2 separate regions of the Homo sapiens genome follow, and region 1 is linked to region 2. Evidence: promoter capture Hi-C in human tissues and cell types (Jung and others, 2019). All regions are on one chromosome and are shown on one strand. The core of a region is centred on a gene start or on the middle of the fragment in contact, and the rest is flanking DNA. Distances in the headings are between cores, read along the strand shown. Region 1 overlaps FLJ12825 (a long non-coding RNA gene). Region 2 holds the start of SMUG1 (single-strand-selective monofunctional uracil-DNA glycosylase 1).

What was found. The method cuts DNA at HindIII sites, captures the fragments that hold promoters and counts their contacts. A contact is called where the count stands out against the background at its distance.
Region 1: a fragment that was not itself captured here is called in contact with the fragment with the promoter of SMUG1 in region 2 in 2 of the 25 tissues and cell types used here (mesendoderm cells and thymus).

Annotation. Positions count from the first base shown.
Region 1 is chr12:54,104,954-54,109,750 of GRCh38, reverse strand. All of the region lies in intron 1 of FLJ12825 (a long non-coding RNA gene), which reads right to left. Among named protein-coding and RNA genes, the nearest start is that of LINC02381, 19 kb to the left of the region's middle. The HindIII fragment of the contact is 5,117 bases long and covers 1-4,797 here.
Region 2 is chr12:54,187,499-54,192,448 of GRCh38, reverse strand. It overlaps SMUG1 (single-strand-selective monofunctional uracil-DNA glycosylase 1), which reads left to right and starts at 3,464. Exons shown (of 4, transcript NM_001243787.2): 1 at 3,464-3,498; 2 at 4,547-4,630. It overlaps LOC105369777 (a long non-coding RNA gene), which reads right to left and starts at 3,352. Exons shown (of 3, transcript XR_944984.2): 1 at 3,247-3,352; 2 at 1,915-2,001. The HindIII fragment of the contact is 7,082 bases long and covers 1-4,950 here.

The DNA of each region.
Region 1 (4,797 bases), core at 1,064-3,563, 82 kb after region 2:
AAAGGGCACTGGAATTGGAGCCAGTCAAACTGGGGTTCAAATCCTGGATCTGTTTTCCACCCGTGTATGACACTGGACAAATCATGGCTCTCCCTGAGCCTCATTTTTCTCATCTGTAGATGGGAATTGTGACGCTATCTCATAGGTTTGTGAGAATTAAATGAGGCCAGGTACGGTGGCTCATGCCTGTAATCTCAGCACTCTGGGAGGCCAAGGTAGGAGGATTTCTTGAGCCCAGGAGTTCAAGACCAGCCTGGGCAACATGCCGAAACCCTGTCTCTACAAAAATACAAAAATTAGCCAGGTGTGGTGGCATGTGCCTGAGGCTGATGTGGGAGCATTGCTTGAGCCCAGGAGCTTGAGACTGCAGTGGGCCATGATCATGTCACTGCACTCCAGCCTGGGTGACAGAGTGAGATCCTATCGAGAGAGAGAGAATTAAATGAGATAATGTTTGTGAAAAGCATTTCGAATACCAATTGTATATATTTAAGTGGGTCAAGAGATTGGGATTCTAATTCCAGCTCCACCACTAACTTGCTGGGATTCTAGCACTGGTTTTGTTAGCAATGGCTTTTTTTTTTTTTTTTTTTTTTTCCTGAGACAGGGTCGCACTCTGTCGCCCAGACTGGAGTGCAGTGGTGTGATCTCAGCTCGCTGCAACCTCTGCCTCCCAGGCTCAAGCAATTCCCCTGCCTCAGCCTCCTGAGTAGCTGGGATTACAGGCATGCTCCACTACTGCCCGCTAATTTTTATATTTTTAGTAGAGACAGGGTTTCGCCATGTTGGCCAGGCTGGTCTCGAACTCCTGACCTCAAATGATCCACCCATCTTGGCCTCCCAAAGTGCTAGGATTTCAAGCGTGAGCCACCCCGCCCGCCCAGTTACCAATGGCTTTGTGACCTGGGGCACATCACAGACCCTTTCTAAGTCTTAGTTGCCCCACAGATACTAAGAGGGGACACAGTGCTCTTTTGGTTGCCTCCAGCTCTGATGTTTTGTGGTTCTAACGAGGAGTCCTTGTTTGGAAATGGAACTTTGGAATGGTTTGGATCTCATTCTGGCCATAGAGAGGGCATCATTGCAACTGTGGCTTCAGGGCCAATGTGCGGTTAGGGGGGCTGAGTCAGAACAGCCCCCTCTTCCTCGATAGTGCCATCCTGTGAGTACAACCCCTGTATGGGTGTTGGACACAGTGTTGGGGAAGACTGGGCAACAGGGGTAAGTAGGAAAGGCCCTGTAGTAGGAGGTTAGCTGGGTATCCATGGAAATGCCTGAACTACTCATGCCTTTTGCACAAGTAGGTCTTCAAATAATCTCTTCTGCTTCCCTCTTTCCCACTCTTTCCCTGTCTAAGGTGTGTGGTGGTGTGTGTGTGTGTGTGTGTGTGTGTGTGTGTGTGTCTAACCTGATTGGGAGAGTAAGCCAAATGGAGTGAAGTGGAGAAACATCCCCAAAAGTCCCAGGTAGAGACCTAAGGATTCCTAAATCACAGTGCAGAACATGGTCCTCCACCCTTTTCCCATTCTGGGAACATCCTGAAGCCAGTCATTGTGGGAGACAGACATGACCCCCAACCCAGCCTCACAGACCCCACCCCTCTTCCATGCTTTGCCCTACCCTCCTTCCGTGTGCTTGTATCCTAACCTTAAGCCCTAGAGACTTCTAGGTACCCAGAGAACAGCCTATTCAGTGATGTTTACTGAGCGCATGTTATGTGCCTTGCACTGGGCCTGGAGCAAGGGCTAAGGAGTGAAATTAGACCTGATCCCTGTTCTGAAGATGTCACAGCTGAGTAGGCAGAAAGACTTTAAACAGATAATGGCAACACGATGTGCTAAGGAACATCAATGTACAAGATAACAGGTAGTCTGTATTTATGGGAGAGGGAGGCGTAAAAGAAGATGCCTCAGCTGCTTTCTAAACATGTTTGTTGTGGAACATTGAAAACATACGAAAACAGAGCAGTATAGTGTCCTCATCATGCAGCTGCAACAATGGTCACACCAGGATCTTGGTGTGTCTATACTCCCACCCACGTTCCATACCCCACTGCACTTACTTGGGGTGGAACTGGGTTGGTTTTGAAAGAGGAACAGCAGTTCCGCAAGTAGAAAGTGCTGGAGGGAAAAGCTTGCAGGCAGAGGGGATGCCGTGCTCAGAAGCTTGAGCAGTGCCTGATGCTGGTGCACCAAACCGAAGCTGAAGCAGTGGGACAAGATGCTTTGGCCCCCGTTCATGCTGGCCCTAATCCATCTGTCACACAGCGTGCCCTGTGGCTCCTTTTGGAACTCGGGTCTCCAGGCAAGTCGGGTCTCCAGGCACAGCCAGGTTAGCGCAGAGCCAGCCCTTTGAGTGCAGGGAGTGAGGAGGCACCGCTAAGACGGCGGGCCTTGGCTGGGCGTCGGCGGGGCCTTGGTGGGCCTAGAGCGCTAGGGACTGGCACGCACCAGCACTGACGGACAAAGCGGGCGCAGTTAGGCCCTCCACCCCGCGTCGGCACGCGGTCTTAAATATTACCCCGGAGTTTTCAATTATCTCTCCTTAATGGATTTGCAGGGGCTCTTTCATCAAGCGCGGGGTGGCTGGGTGTGGGGGTGCGGAGAGAGCGCGGCGAGGGCTGGAGCTGGGAAAATGGCCCATATTTCAATATTAAAGCCCTTTACGATCGTCAGCAGCATGAAAGATGCTGCAAATAAAACGGAGCCGTCCGCGCCAGCCTCTCCATCTCGCAAGTTTTAATTAACGCTGAGTGGGAGGCGGCTGACGGGCGGGTCGGAGCCGGGCCAGGGGCGGATCTGGGAGCCTGCGGATCCCAGATTCCGAACTGGAGCGGCAGGGATCTCGCGGGCCAGGCCAGGCGGAGGCGGAGGGTGGTGGGCTCCGAGTCCCGGGCGAGGGCGCGGAAGATGCTCGTGGAGATGGGCAAGGCTGAGGGGTGGGGGACAGGGTGGAAGGTCTCTGAGCATCTGACCGGGAAACAAAACTCTGCAACTGAATGCAGAAAGCTTTGTTCTTAAAGGTGAGGGGGCTTGTGGCCAAATCATCGAGCTCTTCATCCCCAGGCTCCTTCAGCGCGCGTCCTTCTGCCTCTCTTCTTTCGACCAACAATTCCCCCAAACGCTCCCCCGCGTTGATTCCCGGTCCCCTCCCACCTCGTCCTGTGGCCCCTTGTTTCGGGAGGCAGGCGTGCTTCTGTGACCCCACGGCTCCTGTTCTGGGACGTCTGCTTTCTCCATCACTCCCTGGCTTCCCGGGCGGGCCCCATCCTCCGGAGCGGAGCGGAGCAGCGCGCACAGAAGCGCCACTGTTCTGCCTTGGCAGGGCCTGGCCCGACAGCTTGTGCCTGCGCAGCAGACGCATCCGTCAGGCGGGAAGGATGGAGCGACGTCCGGCTGCCCGCTCCGAGGACTCCCCAGGGAGACACCTCTGGCCTTGGCCCAGACTCCTCTCTTCCCTTCTCCCCACCCGCCAACCCTTCCCCCAACTACCAGCTCAGTATATACTTCTGTCTCTCCTCCTTTCCTTGCTTCTCCTCCTCCCTCCCATACGCATGCAGCCTGGGGCCTGGGGCCCAGGAGAGCCACTCCTCTCATGGGTCACACTGAGAAGTCCTTCCTCCACTTGCATCCACATGGTAGGGCATAACTCTAAAGCTTAAAAAGATCCAGCGATCTCAGGGGACCACAATCCAAAGCTAAGTCAGCCAACCAACACTCAAGGGCTAAAATCAAGGACTTTGGGCAAGCCCTATAGAGTGGAGGAATTAGAAAAATAATACAAATAAAAGACATGGTCATTATTCCTGGGTATTTACAGATACTTTGTGCTTCCTGAAGTGTTTTGCAGAAATCACATTCTCCTCTCATTGTGCTACACAGCTTGTAAGCACCAAGACAAGAAATTCTATGATAAAGCAAAAAGAAAAGAAAAGAAAAAATCCTCTTCTACTTTCTTCTTCGTGTGTATTTTTTCTTGTCAATTTCTGATAATCTGTCAAGCCTACTTAAAATAGTGCCTGCTTATGCAGTATGGTTAGGATGATGAACACACACTTAAACAGGATAGGGAATAAGTACAAACTACAAGTGCTGTGGGGATGCAGAGTAGTAGGACAAGTGGTGAAAATTAAAACATTTTTGGCTTAATCAAGGAGTACTTCCTGGAGGAGGGGAGACCTGATTTGGAAGGAGAGGTGATATAAACTTGAAAAGAAAGTTCCAGATGTGGAAACACTGGTTTTATTCTTTATTTTTATTTTGAGACAGGATCTTACTCTGTCACCCAGGTTGGAGTGCAGCGGCACGATCTTGGCTCACTGCAACCTCCACTTCCTGGGTTCAAATGATCCTCTGCCTCAGCCTCCTGAGTAGCTGGGACTACAGGCATGTGCCACCACACCCAGCTAATTTTTTTGCTTTTTTTGTAGAGATGGGGTTTTGCCATATTGCTCCAGCTGGTCTTGAACTCCTGGACTCAGGCGATTCCCCTGCAGCCTTGGCCTCCTAAAATGCTGGGATTATAGGTGTGAGCCACCACACCTGGCTAACACCGGTTCTAAAATTAGGCAGAATCTATATGTTACTTCAGGTTGAGGAGCAGATAATCTTGGCTATATTTTCCCTGACAATACAGTAAGATGAAAGAAGCCTTGTGCAATAGCAGGAAGAATTCAGGGTAGACAGTGGGATCTTGGCTAATGCTGGAGACTAAAGTGAATGGAGAGAGACCCTGAAGCACCCTTCTCCCATACTTGGCTATGGGCTATGGGAGGGATGCCTGGACTCTGAGACTTGG
Region 2 (4,950 bases), core at 2,215-4,714:
GAAATCTACAGGATGAGCTCCCCAGTCTTGTCCTCCGTGCTTGTGTGTCTGATAGGGCTTCATGGACTGGGTCTTGGGTACTCAGACTATCATCTGCCTGAGACCCTGGCAGAGCAACAGCAATAACTACCCTTTGTGGAGCCCAAATTCTGTAATAAGCACTTAATGTAATTAAGTCATTTAAACATCACAAAAGAAGATAGAGATTACAATGATTATCCCATTTTACAACTGAGATAACTGAGGCACAGAGAAATTAAGTAGCATGCCCAAGGTCACCATGAGTAAGTGGCAGAGCTTGGATTCAAACGCAGCAGTCTGATTCCAGAGCCCAAAGTCCTGAGGCCTCTGCTATGCTGTCTTCACTGTCCTATGCTCTTTTGATGTTTGTTGGGCTAATCGGGACAGGACCCAGTGTAGTGGAAGTGGGGAAGGTGGCTACACTGAAAGTTAAACACCAGAACCCCCTTTGGGGCTCCCCATGTCAGAAACAGTGAGTGGGAGCTGAACAGGGTGAAACTTAGTATCTATGAAGGGGGAAACATGGCCTTCACCTTCTCCAATTCCCGACCTTTGTTTTGTGCAGTGGGAGGCCCCGCAGCTAGACAGCCCTTCCCCGTGAGAAGCGGCGAGGCAAGGGAAAGGCTGAAAGATCCGCCTAGCAGCCCAAGTGAGCAGAGTCGGAGCTAGGACCCAAAGAGGCCGATAGATGGCGCTCATGGCCCAACACAGCTCCAGCAGCCCGAGGAAACAAAAAAAAAAAAAAAAAAACAAGTGAGCCGGTTAACCCCTTCCCTCCCGGGCTCAGGACAGAGGGGCTGGCTGGTGGGTATGCCTGGAGCCCTGCCCCAGGACCGGTGACTCAACTCTCTAGGCTCTTACCCAGGCGATAACCTGGGTCATCTTCTGTTCCTGCCCCACAAGGCTCTACCCGTAAATCACAGTCAGCAGCCTCCTGAAGACTTCCCAGAAGACATGAAGACTAATAAATGGAAGAGACTGGTTGGAAGGGCTGCACCCAAGCCCATGTTTCATCTCTTGGGCTCTATCTCTTGAAAGCCTCAGGGTCCCTGTTTCTAAGCACGCCTACTTCAGGAGAGCGCCTCACCTCCATCTTTCCTGGGAGTGACTCACTGGGCGGGGAGGAATAGCATGGACTAGAGAGAGAGAAGGCCCCAGGCCCCTCTGACATTGGCTGTAGGGACTCACTGTGGGCTGCCTAAGCCTCAGTTTCTCCTTATATCTGGACTTCCTATCTCTGGGTTCCCTGGGGTGGATGGGCTTATAGGGACAGAAACAGTTATTCAAGTCTTCTAGGAAATTGAAATCAGGGGTGGGGAGGTGGAGGTCCTGGGGGATCTCTGCTTGCCTGTTACTCATTTCACTCATTATTGTTCTGCCAGAAGCAGACTTTGAATGTGGAGGGGCTGCCAAGATGACAAACTAGAACAGAAGTGCTGGGCAAGCAAGTGACAGAGGGGTCGGGGTGGACAGGAGGGTTGTCCAAGGGATGGTGGAAATCCTGGAATTTTTAAGCAATGAGATGACACCACAATGAGGTCCCTTCACCTTATTTTTGGTCAGAAACACAGAAATACATAGACACACAGAGATGGGGGAACTTGTTCTAGAAGCTCAGATTCTCTTATTCCAGTCATTCTAGGGTAAGAAGCAGAAACAGGGAGATGTTCACAGAGGGAGACAGAGACCTGCAGATACAGAGAGAAAGCTACACAAGAGACTAGAAATAGAGATAAATTTACATAAGTAGAGAGGGGCAAATAACATAGGCAGAGAGAGACACAGAGAGGGAGAGGATCTGGTAAAAATTAAAGCTCAGGAAATTATGGGCTTCATGAGGTGGATGATTAATTCCATTTCCAAAGTCTTGCAAGGGTCAGGGTAGTTTCTCACCCTTGATGTCAGCAGGTCACTGCTCACAGCTCCCTGAAGCTCCTACTGCACCCATTAAGTTTTTGTTGATAGGAGATCAGACAAGTCCTGGGAAGGGAATAGCATCCTTTTTCTCTCACTTCTTCCTGTTCTGGGGTTTATAGGTCTCCTTTTCTACCACTCACAGGGAGACCTTGCTTCTGTGATTAGAGCCTTGGCTGTGCTAAGGTGTGTGGAGATTGTGGGGTGGGAGGAATATAGAAGATAACTAACCTTAGGGGGTTCCCAGTCTAATGAAAGTTTTAGAGTCACGACACAGAACCAGACCCAGATAGAGCACAAGAACAAAACTAGGAATAGGACAGATTTGGACATAGATATTGGGATGGGGGAATGGTGGGGGAATGGACTGTTAGGTGCAGCCATGGGATGAGGATTGATCAGGGAAGCCTTCCTGGACAAAGTATTTGAGGGAGAAGATTTGGATGGAAGAGTGATAGCTAACTTTATGTGTCTACTTGAGTGGTCTAAGGGACACCCAGATAGCTGGTAAAACATTATTTCTGGATATGTCTGTGGAGTGTTTCTGGAAGAGATTTGCATTTGAATTGGTAGACTAAGAAGATCACCCTCATTAATATGGGTGGGAACCATCCAATCCCTTGGGGGCCAGTAGAACAAAAGAGTGGAGGAAGGCAAATTCTCTTTCTTCATGAGCTGGGACATCTATTTTACCTGCCTTTGGACATCATTGGAGTTCCTGGTTCTTCGTCCTTCAGGCTCTGGGACTTAGCAGTGAGCCTCCTCCCCTGCTTTGGACTTTCCTGAATTATACCACCTGTTTTCCTGGTTCTCCAGTGTATAGACAGCAGAGCGGGAGACTGTGGGACTTCTTGGCCTCCACAATCCTGTGAGCCAATTCTTGGAATAAATCTCGTCATATAGATAGATATCCTGTTAGTTCTGTTCTCTGGAAAACTCTTGACTAATACTGAGGTTATAGGGTTGGGCAGATAGCAAGGCAGAGAAAGAAGTCAAAATGGTGACACTCTGGAGATGGGCTTGGACAGTAATGGGGGATGCCCCTTGCTAAAAAGTTGTTAGGAGCTACCAGAAATGTCTTCGTGGATGTTCTGTATAAGTAATGGCAGGCTGCAAAGGAGAAGTCTCTTATACCCACGGTGGCAGGGGGCCTAGCAATGGTCTTTAGCTATTGTTAATACCTTCAGGTGGGTGAGGGATTGGGGATGGTTGAAGCTTCCTGATTTGCAATCCCTTTGGGAAAATAGTGAATGAACTTTTGGAAGGGCGATGCCCTTTAGGGATAGAACCCAGGATTTCCTAGGTACTTACAGGCTGTGGCTTTTCACTTCTCAAGACTTCCTGATTTAACGCTGATGGAAAGATTAAACTACAATTCCCAGCGATCTTTAGGGCTAATTTAGTGCGCCTTCCGGGATTGGAGCATTTCCGGCGGAAGTGGCTGCGGGTACGCCAATCTCCTTCCCTAAACAATGTAGACTACGACTCCCACTGTCCTTAGCGCCGGGGGTTGGGTTTGGGGTGGGGGAAAGGAACCGGAAACGGGATGGGGAGCTGGACCAGGTGAGGAAGTAGGGGGCTGGGAATCCGGGACTGTGGGGGCAAGTTGACGGCTCCCAGGGTCGTCGGGGCTGAGCCGAGAGGGTGGTTAGAATTTCTATATTTTGGGGTCCCTCCCTCCGTATGGGGTAAGACTCAGTGCAGGGAGAGCCCAGCCTATGAAACCGCCTGGGAGGTCTGCAGGATCAAGGCTTTCCAGTCGGCCGGAGCCAGCGGGCGCCCCCGGAGGTTTTGTATGGTGCCTTAGTAGTCGGCCCCTTTGGAACCAGATGAAATGGTCTTTTTGAGTTTATGCTTTATTATTATTATTGTTTATTTATTTATTTTTCTGAGACGGAATTTTGCTCTGAATTCCAGGCTGGAGTGCAATGGCGCGATCTCAGCTCACTGCAGCCTCCGCCTCCCGGGTTCAAGCGATTCTTCTGCCTCAGCCTCCCGAGTAGGTGGGATTACAGGCGCGCGCCACCATGCCCAGCTAATTTTTGTATTTAGTAGAGACTGGGTTTCACCATGTTGGTCAGGCTGGTCTCGAAGTCCTGACCTCGTGATCCGCCCGCCTCGGCCTCCCAAAGTGCTCGGATTACGGGTGTGAGCCACCGCGCCCGGCCTATGCATTATTATTATTATTATTATTATTATTATTATTATTATTATTATTTATTATTATTATTATTATTATTATTATTTCGTTTAAGGATATTTATTATTGTCCCTGGACTCCCGGAGTGCCTCCAAAGGACAGGGGAGTGCATATGTGATTTCGATTCCTTCCTCACTTCCCGGATTTGATGTCAGAGAAGTCTGACATCAGTCTGAAGTCGGCCCTTGGTGGTCAGCCTTATCGCTTGGTCCAACTCCGCTGTCTTTGTGCTTAATGTAGTATGACACCGTATTTTATAAAATATCTACATTTCTTAAGCCTCTGGCTCTTGGGGCGACTTTGGGTAGAACTTACAAGTTCCTCCTTTGGGTTCTCTTAGTGTTTTGTTCCGGGTATTAAAGCTCACATCACACTGTATTACAGTTAGTTGTTTATTTGCCCTCACAGCAGATTATGAGCTTACAGAAAGCCTGGCCTACATTTTACTCTTTTTGGATTTCTTCCTCATCAAGAGACTGCTGCAGTGCCTGTCATGTAAGAGACTCATAAGTATTGAAAAAAAAAATGAGTTAACAGGTGGTAGGTTGGATGGAGTATGTGATTTTCCATAGAGAAGAGAGTTAAATGAGTTGCTCAAGAGAACCTTCTTAGAGATGAAACAGGAGTAGAATTCAAATCAATTGACTTCCAGCCTGTGGCTCTTGCTATGAGATCAGGCTTTGAAGTTATGGAACAATGAAAGTAGTATCTTGCCACTCTTTTCCCCAGCCTTGCTGTTTCCAACACAGGTGTCTAAATGTCAAAGGTGGGCTCAAGACTTCTCGAGATTCTAGAGCTGGAGCAGCCAATCTGCT